3 separate regions of the Homo sapiens genome follow, and all the other regions are linked to region 1. The links are contacts of gene promoters, found by promoter capture Hi-C in blood cells and fetal thymus (Javierre and others, 2016). All regions are on one chromosome and are shown on one strand. The core of a region is centred on a gene start or on the middle of the fragment in contact, and the rest is flanking DNA. Distances in the headings are between cores, read along the strand shown.

Region 1 (2,700 bases), core at 148-2,647:
AAATCATACAGGGATTGGCAATAGTTTTGGATCTTGAAGGACTGGAGAAGGACCAGAGGCTGCTCCAGACAAGAATGCACAAACAAAGGCCTGCAGAGCCACATGGAAGTGAACACTTGTAAGAAATATGGAGAAGCTCAGTAGCAGCACCATACAGAGTGAAAGAAACGAATGCTATTATATTAATAGAAAGGCAACTAGTGTCAGATTATAGACAGCCTGGGCTGTAGGCCAAGAAATGTATAGTAAATACAAAAGATTAATTCAGAAAGACCTAGGGGACACATAAGCAATTCATCACACATTGCAGAAATATATTGATTATGCAAATACACTACTCATTAACATTACTTAGGTATAAAGGGGTAAATATAGGGTAGCTTAATTCAGGGAGAAAGGTATGATCTGTCTTTTAATGATTGAGGGTATTAAGTGGATTTTAGATGGTACCATAAAATCCTGAATAAAGTGTAACTAAAACTAGATTCTGTGTGCATGATAATGACACAATCATCCTTGTCACACAATAGAAGGTAGAAGAGAAATTTTAAGTTAAATCTGAGAAAGAGGCAAATTTGAGAACGGAGAGGTCCTGAAATACAGAGAAATTTATTTTATAACATTATGGTTTTTAAATTATTGCCTAGGTTTACCAAAAAATAACAATTATCCAGCTAATATGCCAATTACAACTGAGCAATCCAGTGAAACAATAGAAATAAAAGCTTCATCACTTGGCCAGCAGGTGGCACTTGTCACTCGGTATAGAAAACAGCAGGTAATGTGGAATGAAGCTGAAAGTAGTTAGAAACAGATTACTTATTCATCTATTCAAAAGGATAAAGATGGGGATGGGTTGTATTCAGAAGCACAATTTATAACAAGGATCTTGGCTTGTTGACATAGCTTATCAATTACATGGAGGACAACCCCTTTAGTCTATAAAATGCACCACAGGTGACAGATCTTGAATTTGAGCTCTCCTATTAGGTTTACTGAACTTAGGTATTTCCCTTAACAAATATGATTTGCAATATATAAGTTTGTTGCTACTGTAAATGTTCTTATGTCCTTTTTGTCTGTATTTTTCCTATAAGACTGCGAGAAATATGGTGCTGGAATTGGGCAAAAAGGAAATAAATTCCAACTTCACCATTTAAAGTTACGTGCTTTGATTAAAATTATTTTTAACTTTTTTGGATTTCACTTTCCTCTTTGTTAAAATAGATATAACTAGCTGGAATGTTGTAGGAATTAAATAAGATACCATGTGGAAACGATACCTTTAGATCTAGCTACTTCATTTTCTCCTATGGGACAACATCTAATAATTAGGATAACTCTCTTACCATCTAATCATTAGATACCCATAGAACCTAAAATCCAGAAAGATTTTTGATTTACCTGGTCAACCTTTCATTTTCCAGATCAAGATGCCTGCTACCATTAAAGCTGAAATGCAAGAGAGTTAAGAGATAGGGTGTGCAGGTTTAGGTCATTTTTATATTCACTACACAGGTCTGGTCAATGGATAAGTGGTCATTGGGAGTGGGATGGAGGAAGAGAAAACAGGAGGTGGGCAAATAATAATTACATGGCATATATTGTATGATTCTGTGATACTGAATGGGTGAATGGACACCAAAAATAGACATACAGTGAATCATAGTAATAAACTAGCCAGTTCTTGATTTTTTCAGTGATGTCTAGCCTATATTTGAAACTGAATGGGGCCAATGATGGCCTGTTTTTCTAGCTTTCCCATCCTTTCTTATCTCACATTCCAAAACTACTTCTAAAGGGTTTTAGAATGAGGACAGGAAATTTACACTGAACATTGCATGGTTTTTAGTCTTAGTTTTGACATCAGATAAATATCACCAAAACATAGTTTCTGAACATGTTCATGGATTATTTTTGTGAAAGGAGGAATCAAGGTCATCTTTCAGAGGTCTTCTGTTCAGTAATTACCATATTATAACTATATGGGAGTTGCATCATTGTAACAAGTCACACCATTTTTAAAAGAGAGATGCCACACAAATACTGAGTTTAATTTTTAAAATATGAAAGCTTAACATGTAATTTAAGTGACTGGTTCCATGAAAGAACAAATCAGTGTTCAGCTCCAAGTGTTCCTTTAGGTTGTTTTTCTCACCTGAAATGCCCTATCCTTTTCCCTCTATTTATCCTAAATAGACTTCAAGATACAAGTATCACTTCCCCTATATAACTTTCTTTGGTTTCTTTTTCTTTTTTCTTTTTTTTTTTTTTTTTTTTTTTTTTGAGACAGAGTCTCATCTTTCCCCCAGGCTGGAATGCAGTGGCGTGGGCTCACTGCAACTTCTGCCTCCCAGGTTCAAAGGATTCTCCCACCTCAGCCTCTGAAGTAGCTGGGATTACAGGCGTGAGCCACCACACCCAGCTAATTTTTTGTATTTTCTGTAGAGATGATGTTTCACCATGTTGGCCAGGCTGGTCTCAAACTCCTGACCTCAAGTGATCTGCCCATCTCAGCCTCCCAAAGTGCTGGGATTACAGGTGTGAGCCACCATGCCCAACACCCCTATATAACTTTCTTTGATTGAAGCTGCCCTCACTATCTCCTGCAGTAAACTTCTATTGCAGTGTCAGTTACAATAAGAAAACACATGTGAATTAATATTACTTTATAGTGGTTGCTCATTTTTAAATAGCTGT
Region 2 (2,700 bases), core at 21-2,520, 2.0 Mb after region 1:
AATGTAAAATGCCCAGCACTGTACATAATTACTTCTTTGTTAAGATGTCAACCTTTGTTTTTTAGTTAAGAGTTAATGAACCTTGATAATTGGCAAACAATCTTTGAGCCGAAAGTAGGATGGACACCATCAGTACTCTTAACCCAAAACAATGAAACTATTGTTGGCATTAGGATTACATTGCTTTCTGTTCAGATAATTTTTTTCTGAAAAAATGCATGTATACTTTGTTATTCAATGGTGTCAGAAATATTAATAAGTTAGCTATAATTAAGTATTCCTTAAACAGTTTGTTATTCAAACAATAAATGTGAACTTATGTATAAAGTTAGAAGACTAAAAATGGCATAGAACGCACTAATACTCTCATGCTAAAGGTTTTAAAAAAATTAATAGTATTTCTGCCCTTGAAAAACATGAGTTGTATATGTAATGTAAAATCTTTTTCTGTGGCCAGTAAAAATTTCCAACAGGAAAGCTTGGGGTGAGTATGTCTAAAATTCACTCATCTGAGGAGAATGTAATTTAAGATTGGGCACTTTTATTATAGAAAGTAGAAATTTGAGTTATCTTACTTTTTAACTTAAAGAATCATCTTGAGAGATCAATGGTGTCCACTGGAAGGCAAGAACTTGGTTCTGGCAGGAAAACCACCACTGGCTGGTAGTATTTGCAGAGCACTTAACCTCTGTGCCTAGGTTCTTGTAGCTGTCAAGTAGATAATAGTAATTGCTACCTTCCGTGGGAAGTGAGCTTGTGCTTTGACATCTTTAGTTGAAGATGCTGTATAAACACAAATTATTATTATTAGAATATAATACATATATGCACATAAAACACCAGCATGGTGCTCTTTTAATGCTTATATAACATCTATAAATAATGCTCTTCCATGCTCTCTCTTCACTTTAGGTCAGAGAATATCATAGCAGACCACTATTCAATTTCTGTAAGTATGGAGGAAATATATTTGTTAAAGCTCCATGTCATCTTTTTGAGACGAACTTAACCTGCTAATTCCTTATGGTCTCTGTAGCAATTGCCCGATGGCCCCTACCCAAGTTAAGCCTTTGGTATTTTTTGAAATGTTGGCTAAATTACTTTTCTTGGAGATGTGGAGCCATCAGGGAAAACCTGGAAGAATGAAATTGGCTAGTGATATTAAAATTTTGGTTGTTTAACATTTAACTGAGTCTCAACAACGTGTTAAAGTGCTATCTAAACAGATAATTAGCTAGTGGCTGCGCAGTGAGCTGTCTAAATTTAGCAGTGAAATTAGGTTTAGGGAATGCGAATATAGAAAAAGAAATTTTCTCAAGGGAAACGGTGGTGTCAGCACAGCTGAGGAATGTCACAATAGCTACATTTTGTCAATTATGATCATCATCAGGGGATCTCCCGGAGCGATGCAGGACAAGGTTTATTCATAAGTGCATCTTGAGAATAGGTGATAGAAAGCCTTGGCTGCAGGAGACAAGCTTACAGGGGACGACAGAGGCAGACAGGCACAGGGAGGGAGGGAAGAGGAAAGGGCTGGAGGGAAAAAGGCACTAGACCGAGCGCTGGGAGACTGGAAGGGAGGCAGAAGTTAAGAAAGAAAAAAGAGGTGGGCAGGGTGTAGAATGGCTTGTAGCCTTGGAGGTTAGTAAAGCCTTGTAATCCAGCGGGCGGAAGGTGGGAAGACCCTATTGACTGAAAGCCGAGGACAGCGTGGTCTTGGCCGCAAGCATGCATTAGTTTAGCTGCGACAGGCTAACTTCTGGGCGGCTGATCCTTGTTCAGCTTTCCTGTTACTGGAACACATTTATGGCTATCTCGTGGAGATGACAGGACCTACATAAAATTAATAGTGTCAGGCCTGAGGACTGGTGTCCTCTGCCTTCAATTCACCCCCTACGCTGGACAGTCCAAATTGTCCACCCTCCTACTCCCCCCGCGGAACCAATGTGGCAGTGGCTCCAAGGTCAAGCTGCCGGTACTGTGCGAGGCGGGAGGATGGAGAGGGCAGGGCGGAGAGCCACCTGGGATGAGCGAGGGTCATGGTGGACCACAGACGCTCTTCTTATACGGGCAAATGTTTAATACTTCCCGAGGTCGCCTCTCTGCCATCAAACGAAAACAGGCAAGAAAATAAAACTACACATACGAACATGCAAAGGAAACAAAACCAAAGAAAAACACCAACGCACTCGTTGGGGGAAATCCATGGCCTCCTGTTGCCAGTCGCCCGGCGCGGAAAGTGGACAGCCCAGCGGCCAGTGAGAAGCAAGAGCAAGAAAGCAAACCTTCTGAAGACCCCTCTCCTCGCCCAGCTCCGCCGACCATTCTACCAAGCTGCCCTCCCAGAAAAAAGAGCAGGAAAAATGCCTGTGCAAACGTGCCTTGGCGAGCGGGGAATAAGTGGGCTGGGAAGAAGGGAAGGATTCGGAGAGCACAGCTGTCCCGGGGAACAGGAAGGAGGAGAAAGTCTCTCCCTCCCTTCAGTGCCCCGCGCCCCAGCGAGGAGGAAGATTACTAGTCCAGCAGGCTGCGTCCAGCTTCCTACACAGGAACCTTTAGCATGGGCAACGGAAGGGCAGCCCCCTCCTGCCTTCCCCTCCCCACCCCACCCCCTCGTCCCAGGTCCCCGCCACAGGGAGAGCGCCGCCCGGGAGAGGAGAAGGCCGAGCGTGATTGTCCCGCAGCCCTCGCCTCAGTCGG
Region 3 (2,700 bases), core at 190-2,689, 3.0 Mb after region 1:
TCACGACTCCAAAGACATGCTGGATTCACTATATCCAAACTTTGCCTTTAATTCTGGTACCAATTACTGCCCCCCAAATTTATAACCAGGATAATAAAAGTTACTTTACTATCTTATATATACTCAAAGTATTACACAAGCCACCATAACTTTTAAATAGGAAACTACTACGTAAAACTCCATGGTTGATGCTTGAGGCCCCCAGGAATTAGTTTGAAAGGTATTTAGAGCTGGAGTCCGGAAACCCTTGTACTACAATTTATTCAACTATTTTTCTATTGTTAGCCATTCCCATTTTTTTCCTTCTCTTTGCCTCTAAAAACGGTGTAGTAGATAATATGCAGTCTTAAGAACTAGTGTTGTTTTTCTATAGGATAATCACAAATTGGTGCCACTGCGTTAAAAGGCACTGGAATGGATGCATATTTTAAAATTGTAATAGATGTGGCCATATTACTTCACAACAAATTTTAGTAATTCACCTTCCTAGCAATCATACATAAGTGCTAGTGTCTAGCATCCTTGCCAATTATTTTTCTTTTTTGCCAACTGAATGGGGGGAAAAAGGCATTATTTTTTTAATTCCAGTTTTTCATTTAGTGAGTTTGAGCATCATGTTTCCTTATATGGGCTGCCTATTTATAGCTGTTGGCCAATTTTATTTGAATTATATTTCTTATTTATAGGAGCAGGCTGAGTAGAAGTATTAATGTATCTATGCTACAAAATCCATTTTTCTAAGCTCTTAACTTGAGGTGTCTTTTGCCATTCAAAAAGTTTAAATTCGTATACAAATATATTTTTTATTTATGATGTTGGGGTTTTGAAATCTTGGTTAAGAAAGTCCCTTCTGTCCCCGGATTATATAATATTCTCCTAAAATTTATTTAATCCTCTCAGTTGTATTCTTCCGTTGAAATCTTTTTTTACTGAAATTTATTTTCGCATATAGCACGAGGAGGGGGCCAAGATAATTCAGTATTTCGTTAATCAGGCATATAGATCTAGAGCGGGGAATGTCCGATACCATTCCAGGTTATACAGGCGAGATTAATGTCAGATCTTGGGAGCATTTCCAGTACAGGTTAAAACTGTCACGCGGTCGGCGGGATTGCAGGTGATGCAGCAAGCCTGGTGTCCTCGACAGGAGACGTTTCCCATCTAGGACCGTTGGATAGGGTTCCTTTCTGAGCTTCCAGCTCTGTAGTATCTATCAGCCCGCTGATAGGGCAGCCTCCCGACGCCACTCAAAACATCTTAAAGGCCCCAAGCCAAACCCCGCTACTAGTAGAACCAACAGTCTAAACGAAAGAGCCACGACGCTCTGCGCATGTGCGCTCTTCGCAAGCTGAAAATCTTGCGGGGAGCTCTTTAGCAAGTTCCGCCTTCCAGCCTGAAGCGCATGCGCAGCCTCGGTTCCGTTGCGTAGCGTGTCCCTCAGTGGGACACTGCAGGGTGCGGGGACAACTACGAAGATGGCGGTTGCGCGCTTGGCAGCTGTGGCGGCCTGGGTACCTTGTCGGAGCTGGGGCTGGGCAGCCGTCCCCTTCGGTCCCCACCGTGGCCTCAGCGTGCTGCTTGCACGGATACCTCAGCGGGCGCCACGGTGGCTCCCAGGTCAGTGTCCGAAAGGCGGGAGTAGGATGCGTTCTTTCGAACGCCTCGGGTTCCGTCAGTTACCGTGCCTGTGCAGTGCGTCTTTGGCGCCCGGTTCAAAAATGCTCCTCCCCCTTTCTCAACACCCCAGTTCTAGGCGCTTTGTAGACTTCTGGTGAAGGCTGTGAGGAGAGCTCTGCCGCGGCCCTGCGGCATTCTGGGCACCCCGGGCCCTCGCTGGCGTTTTACACTGTGCAGTTTAAAGAGCTCCTGCTCCTTACCTGCCTCCCCTGCATTAAAGGCCAACACTAGAAAAAATTAAAATGTGCATTTAATGCATTATTATTAGTTACTTCTAGGAATTTGTAGATTGTGACTCCTAAAATGCTTAGACTGACTCTCCTTTGAGTTTAGGGAACCTAACAATGCGAGGCATGTTCTTTGTAAAAGTGTAGACGCCCTCATAAGCCTAATTTCTAGTTCTGCTTTCTTGCTGCACCCACTCAGTGAAAGAACCATAATCATTATTGCACAAAGGAAACTAGAATTTGGGCTAAAAATCAGAGAACCTCTTATATGTATATATAGTCTTTGAATTAGATCCTTTTATTTTTTTGGCTTTGTGTGTGGTTCACACCATTGCCACGTAGCTGTCAGATGATGCATGGTGCTTGGAGTGGTAATTAATGTCACGGCAGAGATCTTTTGTATGGAGATTTTTGTATCCAGTTTTTAAACTTTTATAATCAGATTAACTTGCATTTAATTGTGCGCAACCAAAAGGCATGTTACACATGCAAATACTCCTAGTAAAATGTAGTATGTCAATTCATTAACCAGAGTATAATATTATTTCATCTAGTTAGCACTTATTCATTGAGCACTTATGCACCAGGCTTTGAATTAATCCTTATGTTCAAAGATGATTTATGAATATAATTATATGAATCTGTCTACTTAGAACTTACATTAAATAAATTATAATCATCTCGGGGAAATTATGTTTTAAGAGGTGATTTCTGGAAGAGGATAGTGAGAATTTTTTTTAGTGCTCAGCTGAGTAGATGGGAAATGAACATGAGTGGATCAGCATAACTGGTCCTT

What was found. The method cuts DNA at HindIII sites, captures the fragments that hold promoters and counts their contacts. A CHiCAGO score of 5 or more calls a contact.
Region 2: the fragment with the promoter of NECTIN3-AS1 here is called in contact with a fragment that was not itself captured in region 1 in 1 of 17 cell types (naive CD8 T cells); the score reaches 6.9 in naive CD8 T cells.
Region 3: the fragment with the promoter of ABHD10 here is called in contact with a fragment that was not itself captured in region 1 in 1 of 17 cell types (total B cells); the score reaches 7.0 in total B cells.

The regions. Positions count from the first base shown.
Region 1 is chr3:109,023,120-109,025,819 of GRCh38, forward strand. All of the region lies in intron 17 of MORC1 (MORC family CW-type zinc finger 1), which reads right to left. Among named protein-coding and RNA genes, the nearest start is that of GUCA1C, 71 kb to the left of the region's middle. The HindIII fragment of the contact is 1,348 bases long and covers 724-2,071 here.
Region 2 is chr3:111,068,689-111,071,388 of GRCh38, forward strand. It overlaps NECTIN3-AS1 (NECTIN3 antisense RNA 1), which reads right to left and starts at 1,271. Exons shown (of 4, transcript NR_045114.1): 1 at 1,102-1,271; 2 at 576-783. LOC151760 (putative uncharacterized protein LOC151760) reads right to left here. Exons shown (of 4, transcript XR_007096272.1): 2 at 576-783. The HindIII fragment of the contact is 1,000 bases long and covers 477-1,476 here.
Region 3 is chr3:111,977,587-111,980,286 of GRCh38, forward strand. ABHD10 (abhydrolase domain containing 10, depalmitoylase) reads left to right here and starts at 1,440. Exons shown (of 5, transcript NM_018394.4): 1 at 1,440-1,617. The coding sequence starts at 1,476. RefSeq lists enhancers at 1,082-1,641, 1,500-1,549, 1,560-1,609, 1,630-1,679. The HindIII fragment of the contact is 3,690 bases long and covers 1-2,700 here.